3 separate regions of the Homo sapiens genome follow, and regions 2 and 3 are each linked to region 1. The links are contacts of gene promoters, found by promoter capture Hi-C in blood cells and fetal thymus (Javierre and others, 2016). All regions are on one chromosome and are shown on one strand. The core of a region is centred on a gene start or on the middle of the fragment in contact, and the rest is flanking DNA. Distances in the headings are between cores, read along the strand shown. Region 1 overlaps ANXA6 (annexin A6). Region 2 holds the start of RBM22 (RNA binding motif protein 22). Region 3 holds the start of SMIM3 (small integral membrane protein 3).

Region 1 (3,924 bases), core at 568-3,067:
CAAAATAATACATGTTCACTGTGGAGACTTGAAGAAATAGAGTAAAAAAGAAGAAAATAGCAATCATCTGTGATCCTTCACTCACACAGAGACCAAACTGCTAGTTAACACTGTGAGGCATGTGCGTGTCCTTCTGTTCTCTTCCAATACTTACAAGTAGAAATTTCTATTCAGATGTTCATGTGTATATGTGGTGTTATACACACACGCCTATATACCTTTTCTGTTTGGGGGGCTGGAAGGCAAAGCAGTTCACATGGGAGGTTCTGGGGATCTTGAGAGGCTGGCATAGTCAGCCTTGGTTGTGCCAAGGTCTTGGGCCTGAGGGCCATGTCTGGAGGTGAGGAGAAAATCCAGGAATGCTTGGCCTGAGCTTTAGCCGTCCGGGCCCCATGGACCTCTGCACAGGAGGTCAGAACTATGGCTGAGATCATCTTTGCCTTGACATTCCAGGGAGCCGGCACAGATGAAAAGGCTCTTATTGAAATCCTGGCCACTCGGACCAATGCTGAAATCCGGGCCATCAATGAGGCCTATAAGGAGGGTGAGTTTGGGAGGCCTGGGCCCAGATGCTGGGAGAACAGCCAGGCCCCCCAACTTCCAACCCCAGCCCACAGCTCTGCCCAGGACTCTGGCCTGTCTCCTTTCCCTCAGTCCTTGAGGATTTGATAAGCCTCTTGGGTGTGCCCATCCCTGTGTCTGGGGAAAAGACAGGTGTCCTGGTAGGACAAAGGCCTGGAGGTAGAAAAGGGCTTGGCTGGAAGTGGGAACAGAGAACATTCTGGCCTGCTGGAGAGAGGGAGGGCGACTCTAGGGGTGTGTAGTCCATGCAGTTCTACAGGGCCCCACAGCCAGAAGGGCCCCACACTTGGTTGCAAGCTATGCTGTCACTGTCCAGAAATTCTTCATTTTTAAGCGAGTGGCCCCATATTTTCATTCTGAAGAATCTTGAGTACCAGTCAAAAATGTTTAAATCGGCTAGGTGCAGTGGCTCACACCTGTAATCCCAGCACTTTGGGAGTCTCAGGCAGGCGGATTGCTTGAGCCCAGGACTTCGAGACCAGCCTGGGCGACATGGCAAAACCCCGTCTCTACAAAAAATATAAAAATTGGCTGGGTGCGGTGGTTCACCCCTGTAATCCCAGCACTTTGGGAGGCCGAGATGGTGGATCCCTTGAGGTCAGAAGTTCAAGACCAACTTGGCTAACATGGTGAGACCCCGTCTCTACTAAAAATGCAAAAATTAGCCAGGCGTGGTGGCATGCGCCTGTAGCCCCAGCTACTTAGGAGGCTGAGGCAGGAGGATCACTTGAACCTGGGAAGCAGAGGTTGCAGTGAGCCGATATCACGCCACTGCACTCCAACCTGGGAGACAGAATGAGACTCCATCTCAAAAAAAACAAAAAACAAAAAAATTAGCTAAGTGTGGTGGCATGTGCCTATAGTCCCAGCTACTCAGGAGACTGAGGTGGGAGGATCACCTGAGCCCAGGGAGGTCGAGGCTGTAGTGAGCCTTGATCATGCCAACTGCACTCCAGCCTGGGTGACAGAGTGAGACCCTGTCTTGAAAAAAAAAAAAAAAGTTTACATTTTTTATCTTATAAGCAGCTTTAAAATGGCAGAATTTTTGAGTACAGGAGTGACATAGTCAGAGCTCTGCTTTTGGGTTTAGCAACTGCCATGCAGGAGGGAAGGTAGAAGAGAGAATGACAACAGGGAGGTGACTTAAGAGGCTGTTAAATATTAAAGGCGAGATGCAATGGGACCTCAACTGGGACAGAGCTGAGGGGATGGAGGGGAGATGATGGGTTGATGGGAATGCCCATTGTCTTACAAAATCAGCAGGAGGATGGCTGGATGCCCCCATGAGCCAGTTACAAACCCTTTCATCCCCACCTCCCCCTGCCAATACTGCCCTGGCTCAAGCCTGAGTTTCCTGGACCTCCCTCCCCGCAACCAAATCCTTCTTGGCCAGCAGCTACCCACACCCCCTTTCTCTGCCTCAGACTATCACAAGTCCCTGGAGGATGCTCTGAGCTCAGACACATCTGGCCACTTCAGGAGGATCCTCATTTCTCTGGCCACGGTGAGTGAATTCATGGGCCCCAGGTCGGCTTGCCCATCGGGAGGCCTGGGAGGAAGGGAAGGTTTACTGAGTGGAGGGCACAGGGGAGTTAGAAGTGCACTCCTGATGGAGAGGGGGTGTCTCCCCACTTGCCTCCTTAGAGTTCCACCGCCTACCCCTGTTGTTCCCTTGTCAAAGTTGGCGTGGTACCACCTTCTCCAGACAGTCCTCCCTGGTGGCCCTTGTCCTGGCTTGTTGGGCCCCCAGCTCACAGGACAAAGCCATATGGGTGACCCTCTCCTGTGTTGTTACCTGGGAGCTTCTGTCACCATCTCTTGAATTCCCATAACCAAAATGGCAGACCCTCATTGACAGTTACCGAGAGCTTGCTGTGTGTCAGGCATTGGTGCTAAGTGTCTTGCACACATTCTCAGTTAATGACCACAACAGCCTACCTTATAGAGGCAGGATTTTCGTCCCTGTGTAGCTGATGAGGAAGAGCATTCAGAGAGGTGAAAATGAGCAGGGTGTGTGGTGGTACAGAGATGGAGATGGGTCGATGTTTGGGGACTGAACTTTCTTGCTGCTCCTGCTGCAGGGGCATCGTGAGGAGGGAGGAGAAAACCTGGACCAGGCACGGGAAGATGCCCAGGTAAGACCCCCAGCCCACCCCAGTCACCTCTGCCGGGTGTCCCTGAGATGTAGGTCCAGCTTATGCGTGTCTACGCCGGGCCCTGTCTGTGAGTGAAGGCTCCTGGCAGGGGCGTGGTTGGTTTGATTGGTTGATACTTAGACTGTAGAAATGAGGTTTAGAAGTGTGGTGCTGGTATTACTGGCATTTCCTAGGTGAATAGCAGGACCCTCAGAGCTGGCAGGGACCTGCAGATCACCCAGGTCAAAGCCCTCATGTTACAGTGGGAAAATGGAGGTCCAGAAAGGGCAAATGACTTCTGAAAGTCACACAGCAAATCAGTGGCCCCAGTAGAATTGACCCCTAGAGAGCTGGTCTGGGAACTTGCTGAGAAGAGGGCCTGAGTGCTAAAGGCCTCGGTTTATTATCTGTAAAATGGGACCGAGATTGGAGGGAGTGTCCTGGGACGAGCCTAGAAAGTAAGTTCCTCAAGGGCTGGAATCTTCATTTTGTTCACTGATATATCCAAAGTAACACATGATCAGTGCTCAATAAATATTTGTTGAATGAATAGCAGGGAAAAGGGTTCTCTAGGAGTCTCTTGGCTGCTCTGCCTCAGCCCTGCTCCTTAGCCTAGTGAGCTTGAGGTCTGGAAATGGCTTCTTCTGGAGGTTGGACAACCCCAAATTCATTTTCCCTGAGGGTTCTATGGCTGGGCAGTCCCTACTGAGGCCAGTGCATTGTCCCCCACTGACCTGCACCTTGATCCCAGCACCCAGTAGCCTGACCCAGGTCCATGTCTCCATCTCTTCTGACTGCCTCATTTTCCCGCCCCCAAAAGCTGTGTCCAGGGATGTGGGGCACAGACACCACAGACTTTTATAGACATCCAGCCCCCTTCTTTTATAGTTGGTGAGTTGAAAAGAGCACTGATGGATTGAGAGTCAGGGAACCAACTTTTCTGTTCCCAGGTCCCATAACAGAAGTGTGGTTTGCTACAACAGCATCTGAGCTAGAAAAATCTTTAGCTGGAACCTGACAGTTACAGAATTGTAATTATAATTTTTAGAATGCATACTATATATTGAGAACGATGCCAAGATTATTCTATACGTTTTTATGTTCTCCCTTTTTACTAGAAGAAAATGAAGCTCCTTAACCTCTTCAATGAAAGAATTTCTAAGTGGTGGTGGTTTTATTTGAACTCAGGCTTGCCTGATGCCAGAGT
Region 2 (3,924 bases), core at 804-3,303, 420 kb after region 1:
TTCCTAGGAAGTCATGTTCCATGTTGCTAGGAAGGCTCATTCCTAGAAGTCATGTCCCACAAAGATTAAAAAATAAATTGGGGGAGGAAAGAGGGAAAAAGGAAGGAAAGGAGATGATTCTGAGGGCTCCAGACTTAAAGGAGAAAAGGGTCCTATCTCTTTTCTCTTAATGTTAAATGTTATTTTGTTTGTGGAATGTTCACTCTATAATATATATGTTGATTAAGTATACCATTATGCATGATTTGCAATATTGATTGACCTGTGGAGTGCCTTGAGCCTGTGTGTCCAAGACTCTGAGTGCTGAGTGAGTGGGAAGTACTAAGGAGAATTGCTTTCTTGGAAACTCCATGTAGTTCGTGGCTTTTGTGATTGAAATAGCATCAGTAAAAGTCTGGCATTGTGGAAAAACACAAATGTACGTGGACTCTGTTATTTCTGACCTTGCACTCCTCACAAGGCATGTGAAATTGGAGTCACAGATGTAGAAACCAGGCAGAAGACAGTCTGAAGAGATGATACTTGAGAATTTTCCAAATATAATAAAAGACAACAAATCACAGATCCAAGAAGCTCAGATAAACCCAAGGACTTTCTTATAAAGGAAAAGATATACTTACCATATGATCAAATAATCTCACTCTAAGGCATTTACACAAGCAAAATGAAAACCAATGTCCATACAACGATCTGTATGTGAATGTTTATAATGGTTTTATTTATATTCACTAAAATCTGGGAACAACCCAAATATCCAGCAACTGGCAAGTGAATTGTATGATATATCCATACAATGGAATTCTACTCAGTAATACAAAGGAAGAAATTATTGATACATGTAATAATATGGATGAATCTCAACTACAAAATACTAAGTGAAAAAATATCAGATCCAAAAGGATATATAGGATTCCACTTATGTGACATTCTGGAAAAGGCAAAACTAGGGACAGAACACAAATTAGTGATTGCCATGGTTTGAGTATGGGATAAGTGGACTAACTACAGAAACAAGGGAACTTTGGGGATGACAGACAATTCCATATTTGACTGTAAGTGAATGTATGTACAAAATTCAAAACTAAAAAGGATAAAACTTTATGTAAATTATACTTTAAATCAACTTTTTTTTTTAATGAGGTGATTTAAATAAATGTGTTAGGTAGCTTGATGACACGGTAAGTATGAAAGTGGTACCAGAATGGCTTGAAACTCATAAAATATTGGCAGAGTGGTTATGAGTTATTCCAAAAATCAAATAATGCATATGTTGATTCGTAAGACCCTTGTCATTTCAGAAGCTGGAAATGAAACAGTACTAATGAATTTGTGGCTTCACCACTTTTTAGCTCCACAACCAGGAGCTATATCAGGAGAGATTAGGTTAATCTCTCTAAACCTGTTTTCTTTTCTATAAAAGAGGGATCATCATACTTGCCTACAGGGTAGAGTTACCAGATAAAATACAGGACGATTGGTTAAGTGATGTGAATTTCAGGTCAACCACGAATCCTACTTTAGGACGAGTAGGTACCATATATATTTATAATTAAAAAGCGATTCGCCGTTAATCTGAAATTCAACTTTAGACGTTCTGTAATTCGTGCGTGTGTGTGTGTGCATGTGTGTGTGTGAGTGACAGAGAGAGAGAGAGAGAGAGAGAGAGAGAGAGAGAGACAGAATCAGAATCTGGCAGCCCTACAGAGAGCCCTACAGAGAGGTTATGCGAATAAATAAGACACTGGAACCGCAAGACGTTCGCCCAGAGTTTGGCATAATAAGCGCCTCAGTGGTAGCGAACGCTATTTTAACCCCAGCCTCTGATGCATTACGTCTTCCTTTATTCTTTCGCCCAATTGTTAAATGAATCAACTGTACGTGTGGCCCTTCATTCCAAGCAGGCAAAAACTCGAAGGAAGCATCCAGGTGCATTATACCAGGACCCCAATTGTTAAGCTTAGAAATTCCAAGAGCGGGCGACGTCATGACGCAAAGGCCCCGCCCCGGAAGAAGCCCTAGACGCGTAAATAAGACGCCGACCGGCGCGGCGCTAGCCTCGGGGCTTGACGGGATTGTGGCGGTCCTCTCTCCCAATTCGGAAGCTACAGCTACCTCCGGACGCTCTCAAGATGGCGACCTCTCTGGGTTCCAACACCTACAACAGGCAGAACTGGGAGGATGCGGTGAGTGTGCCTGCCGGAGGAGGATGGAAGGAGGAGGCGAAGCCGCGCACCTTGCAAGCTGGCAGGACAGGGCCTGCGGCGCGGCCGAAGGAATACCGGGGAGGAGCCAGCGCGGCGGCCTAGCTTGGCCGGAGCAGGAGGGCGGAGGGCGATCCTCCTGCGGGCTTGAAGGGAGGGGGCTTAGCCAGGGTCCCGGGACCAGCACCCTTTCCATCCCTGCCCCCTCCAGCCTATTAGAGCTGGTTTTCTTTTCTCCCGCCGCCTGCCGGAAGTGCAGACAGCGCCCCCTCCCGCGATCGGGTCGTGATGGACTTCGGGTTCCTGCCGTGCCTAGTTCCCCACCCTCGCTTCCCGCCCCCTCGCCACCCCAAGTGTCACTGAGGTGTCAGGGTCTTCGGAGGGTGGTCCTCAACCAGATTTCCCATTTTCACCAGGACTTCCCCATTCTGTGCCAGACATGTCTTGGAGAAAACCCATATATCCGAATGGTGAGTGATCGCGTGTGAAACGAGTTATTCATGTCCTGTCGATGTTGTGGTACTTGCACACTGTGAAGTGTTTCTCTTAGACAAGCAGAAAAAATGATGCTCTTTTACTAACGCGAAGTGCTGGACGACTTGCAAAGAACTGTCATGTGTATTCTCTTACGAATCCGGTAACACTCCTGTAATGTAGGGGTAATAACGATAGCTAGTATTTGTTGAGCATTTACCTAGGAAATAGGTCTGTTGACCAGAAGGTGAGAGCGTTTGTGTCTTTTCATACAATAGTAAGGAATGGAGCTGGGATTTAAGTTCACATATTCTGGCTCTAGGAATGTCAGCATGATAGGAGGAGAACCAGAACTAGAAACTAGGTTTCCTGAATCCTGGTCAAATGCCTTTTGGCCAGTGTACTTTATCTCTTTAAAGTAAGCATTCCCCCTTTGTTACAAACTAGGGTAAAATTAGAACCAGTTAACAATAATAAGGTTAGGGCTGTATTATTGTGTAGTCGTAGAGGTGTTGATATGTTAGTATGTTCACGATGTTTGAATGGTTCAAGATGTTTGAATAGTTCTGTTTAAACAGAACATTTACTATATTCCGGGCATTGGCACAGGACAAGTCTACAGTAGCTACCTTTTGACTAAACTTTGTAAAGTGGGCGGGCCACAGCTGTATCCTCTCTGATTTAGGGATTGTGGAAAGCATTAGGAATGTTAGTTCTTGGGAGTGAACTTGGGAGCCAAAAATGAACCTAAGAGTTGTGGCTGTGGAAAGACACTCACTTACCTAGCATTAGATGCATATACTCTATTTCTTTTTTCTGTAGAGACAGCATCTCGCTATGTTGCCCAGGCTAGTCTGGAACTCCTGGGCTCAAGCAATCCTTCCACCTTGGCCTCTCAAAGTGTTGGGATTACAGGCGTGAGCCACTGCCACCCAGCCCAGATCCATATACTCTTGAGATGTTATCACTTATAATATGTTGTTATAGTATGTTCCCTACCCTCTTCCCAAAAAAGGTTGGGTTTTGGGTTTTGTTGTTGCTGTTTTTCTCTCTCTAGGATGCCAGGGATTTCCAGACACATTTCTTGGGTTATGTTTAAGGAAAGAGTAGACATCTGGCTTTTTTCTTTCTGTAACTCCAGTTCTTTTCTATTTTTTTTCTATTATAGACCAAAGAAAAGTATGGGAAGGAATGCAAAGTAAGTATGTCTGTTAAAGAGTAATGATTTCTGTTTCATTTTTCTTTTCTC
Region 3 (3,924 bases), core at 782-3,281, 340 kb after region 1:
TTCCTTTGCATGTTTCAATCCATAGAGAAGAAATGGAGGCACAACGTTTAAAGGATTGGCGTATGGCTGAGAAAGCATCTGAGGCTGTGACTGGCCCTTATCCCCTTGGTCTGTCACCCCCAAGGGCCCAGGATCTGACCTGACCACAGGCCCCCAGAGTCTCTCATTTGTTTTGCATCTCTAACACCTCACCGCGACTCAGTGGTTCTCTGGCTGTTCTCTGGGACTCCCCAGATCTTTAGTGTCATGGAGCCACAGTTCTGAGGTTCGGAGAGGTCACTTGTGGGAGAGTTCATGAAGCATGACTTGTAACCCCCACAGCATGATTCACAGTCCCAGGACAGCTGGGAACAGGAGGTCCCGGCTGGAGCAGGAAAACACTTTTTAGTTTTTTTCAGTTGTCACTGCAGAAGCACATGATGTCCTAAAGCTCAGCTGTGCTGCTTTGCGTGTGTCTAGATGGCTGCTGTGCGGCCTGCATAAACCAAAGAGCATGTCATGCTCAACCACAGACAAACATCTGTTCCACTCCCATGTCTTCATTTTACAGATAGGGAAGACAAGGGCCAGAGAGGGGAAATGCCTCCATTAGGGTAATTCAGAGGGTCTCCTAACCCCCAGAGTACCTGTTCTTCCCGCTCCCACCTCCACCTAATTCAGGCATCCCCAATCCTTCCAAACTATGTGGCCACTGCAGTAGCAGCACGCATCATAGCAGATGTTCAAGGAATCTCTGATACTTGTGTGATTGCGCAGCCTTCACCACCACACCCTGGAGCTTTGAGGACCTTAGTATTCACCACAGATGAACCGGAGACTCCTCAGCCCCCAGGTGCAGCAGGATTCCAGCTGGTCCAGAAGAAACAAGTGCAGCTGCATAAGTAAGAGCCCAGCCTGGCCCTCAATCAGAATAACAGCCCCTGAGGTTTGTTTCAATTTGTGGGGGGGGCGGGGGGGGTTACACCTTTCATCCTTTCACTCAGTACATATGTATGGAGCACCTACTGTTAGCCAGGCCCTGCTCCAAGAGCTGAGAATGCCTCAGAGATGACGATAGACAGGCAGTCCCTACCCTCAAGAAACTGGCATGGGGGAGACTAGGGAGCAAAACAACCAGCAACTGGAACAACTACGTCCTCAGGAAAGGGACAGCTAACCAGCAGGAGGGAGCTTGAAGGAAGCCTTCTCTCCAAGATACTTTGCTCATGTCCTTTCTCCTTTGCTTTCTGCACGCAGAAAATGTTTTCCCAATTTCACTGATGGAAAAACAAGGATGGTGAAGCAGTTAGTGACAGAACCAGGGCTGGAACCCGCCACTCCTGACTCCAAACTCCTGGCGCCTTCTACACGGGGCCTCGAGAAAAGCGGGACAGGTAAGTGCAAAGACCCAAACCCAGCGCAGCGCCCAAGCAGGTGCTCAGGCCCGGGCGCTGAACCCTGACGCTGGGCCTGGAGAGCCAGGAGGTGGCAGTCTGCCCGAGGAGGAGGCTTCCCGAGAAGGCAAGGGCAGCGGACCCGGAGAGAAGCCAGTCTCCGAGTGGGGCTGGGGTTCGCCCACCCAAGCTCCGCCTCCCCCAGGCCCAAAATTCTGTGCACTAGGAGGCTCGAACTTAAGAGCTGACAGCAGGAGAAAAAGGAGGGGGTGAGGGCAAGAAATACAAAAGTGATGAAAAGGGAGAAATGGGGAGGAGAGACCGGACATAAAGAAGAACGTTGGGAGCCCGGGGAAAGGGGCCGCACTAGAGGTAGGTCGCGAATCCGAAGAGCTCCGCTCTGCCAGAGCCCCACAAACAATCCCCCGGTGGCCCCACTCACCCCAGATGGCGGCGAGTCTGCGGAAAGTTCCTGGGTCAGGGATGGCTCGGTGCTTCTCAGGGTCCCCAGGACTGCACGGGATCTGGCAGCTGGAAGCGACCCCCAGGCCTGGAACCTCAGCCCTAGGCAGCTCCTGGAACGTGCCCCGGCTCCTCCGAGCCCCGGGAGGCGGGAGAGCGCAGGAGCGGCCAGGACGCGCTGCTGGCTCTGGAATGCGCGGCTGCTGGGGACCGCCCCCGGAACGCCCGGTCCCGGGGCCCCGGCAACTCCAGCTCAGCTCCTCCTCCAGCGTCCCCTGCGGGCTGCGTTCGGGGAGAAAGGAACCTGCGAGAGAAGGGAGAGACCAGGGCGTCTCGGGCTCCCCTTCCACGTTGCCACACACTCGCCGCGTAGCCGTGGACATGTCGCTTGGCTTCTGAGGGTCTCCCCTCTCTGGATTGTAAACCGAGAGGGTTGGCCTAAAATGTGTCCTCCACGACCTTTCCAGCTATAGAGTAGACATGGGAAAGAAAGCCTAGCAAGTAGGTTTGGACAGAGGAGCCGGGACTCAGATCCTGCTTTGCGATGTCCGAAGTGTAGGGTCCTTCGGAGGCTTTGCCACTCTGTTTCATTCTCTGTAAAGTGGGAAAGGTAACACCTGTCTCCCAGTCCTGTTGTGAGGATTGGTTTAGAGGACCAGTGTGAAGCTGGTTGGTTCTCTGCCATAACATGACTTGGAGCATCCTGTTTATTTTGTGATAACAATGAAATAGCCCAATCCAAGGTGATCAAGAGCCCATTAGAATCCAGCATCTGAGAGGCTTCCCACGCCACTGTGGGTGGCCCAGCTTCCACGCAGGACAATGCCAATTCTGTAATCTTCTGCCCCCTCTATGTCATCCATGGAGTGAGGGGGGACTCCCGTCCCATGTTGGCACCCACACTTTTTAATTCACAGTGGTTTTCTTTAATCTTACTCTTCTGAAAAAAAGGAGCACAAGCCTTGACTATCAGTGAGACCTTGAGCAGTCTTGGAGCCCAGTAGTGTTTTGGAGGGTTTGGAAAGAGCCATACTGCCTTCCCCAGGCCTAAATTTGATATGGTGTGGGCCCCGAACTTAGAACTTACTCCATGCTGTTTCCTCTGATTCAGGGATGAGGTCAGCAGAAATGACCTCTAAATCATCATTATCACACGCCAGTTTCTTAAGGGAAGGACAGTGAGGATGAAGGGGATTCACATGAGAAATGATTTGAGAAAAACCCTAAGGGCTGTCACCCAACAACATGTTTTATTCAAAAGAGATAGTGTGGGAACCTAAAAACAAGGACAACCCAATTCTGAATAGTTTAATACAAAGCTCTCATTTAATAGTAAAAAAAGATTGAAGGAGGACAATCTTTTTTTTTTTTTTTTTTTTTTTTGAGACGGAGTCTCGCTCTGTCGCCCAGGCTGGAGTGCAGTGGCATGATCTCGGCTCACTGCAACAGGAGGACAATCTTAATATGACATTTTCCCTGGTTAGTGAAGGGGATGAGAGTTCCTTTGGGTGGACAACTGGTAACTCCATGTGCCCTGCTGTGAACATTGGCTTCCCTCTGGGACAAGGCAGAAGCTCAGGCCTGGAGCCAGCTGAGTCCTAGTCTCCCTTTCCATTTAGCAATTTATTAGTATCTCTTTAATATCGACTTGCCCTGGGACCCTAAAAGCAAGCCAGAAATAAAGTATGAATCCCCACAGGAGCATACCATGTTAAGTCTGCTGCCTAGGCTAGACTGATTTTGCAAAGAGAGCACTGAAGGGAAGAATAATGGATGCTGTGTTGGGATGCAGGAGTGGGGGAAATAGTCAATTTCAGCAACAAGCTTTTGTTACAGCAAAAGCCAGAAAACAGCTCACAACTTCCTTGGTCCTCTATTACAACCACTCCAAAGAGAAAACCATCAGGACCTGAAAGAAATAAGTAATACTCTCTTAGAGAGCCCCTGATACTTTGGGGAACTTGTACAGAAGAAGTTGTAGTCTAATGACATTGGCTGCCATCAAAAGACGGCCTTGGCCAGGGGCAGTGGCTCATGCCTGTAATCCCAGTACTTTGGGAGGCCGAGGCGGGCAGATCACCTGAGGTCA

What was found. The method cuts DNA at HindIII sites, captures the fragments that hold promoters and counts their contacts. A CHiCAGO score of 5 or more calls a contact.
Region 2: the fragment with the promoter of RBM22 here is called in contact with a fragment that was not itself captured in region 1 in 1 of 17 cell types (fetal thymus); the score reaches 5.2 in fetal thymus.
Region 3: a contact is called between the fragment with the promoter of SMIM3 here and a fragment that was not itself captured in region 1, in 1 of 17 cell types (neutrophils). The highest score is 6.4, in neutrophils.

The regions. Positions count from the first base shown.
Region 1 is chr5:151,115,920-151,119,843 of GRCh38, reverse strand. ANXA6 (annexin A6) reads left to right here. Exons shown (of 26, transcript NM_001155.5): 18 at 454-544; 19 at 2,007-2,086; 20 at 2,664-2,717. Among named protein-coding and RNA genes, the nearest start is that of TNIP1, 37 kb to the right of the region's middle. The HindIII fragment of the contact is 8,685 bases long and covers 1-3,924 here.
Region 2 is chr5:150,699,191-150,703,114 of GRCh38, reverse strand. It overlaps RBM22 (RNA binding motif protein 22), which reads left to right and starts at 2,053. Exons shown (of 11, transcript NM_018047.3): 1 at 2,053-2,183; 2 at 2,618-2,671; 3 at 3,844-3,873. The coding sequence starts at 2,130. RefSeq lists enhancers at 1,258-2,034, 2,035-2,811. The HindIII fragment of the contact is 2,219 bases long and covers 1,959-3,924 here.
Region 3 is chr5:150,776,864-150,780,787 of GRCh38, reverse strand. It overlaps SMIM3 (small integral membrane protein 3), which reads right to left and starts at 2,031. Exons shown (of 2, transcript NM_032947.5): 1 at 1,816-2,031. LOC124901110 reads left to right here and starts at 387. Exons shown (of 2, transcript XM_047417995.1): 1 at 387-881; 2 at 1,237-3,924. The coding sequence starts at 1,667. The coding sequence ends at 2,308. RefSeq lists an enhancer at 648-1,509 and a silencer at 1,947-2,136. The HindIII fragment of the contact is 6,508 bases long and covers 1-3,661 here.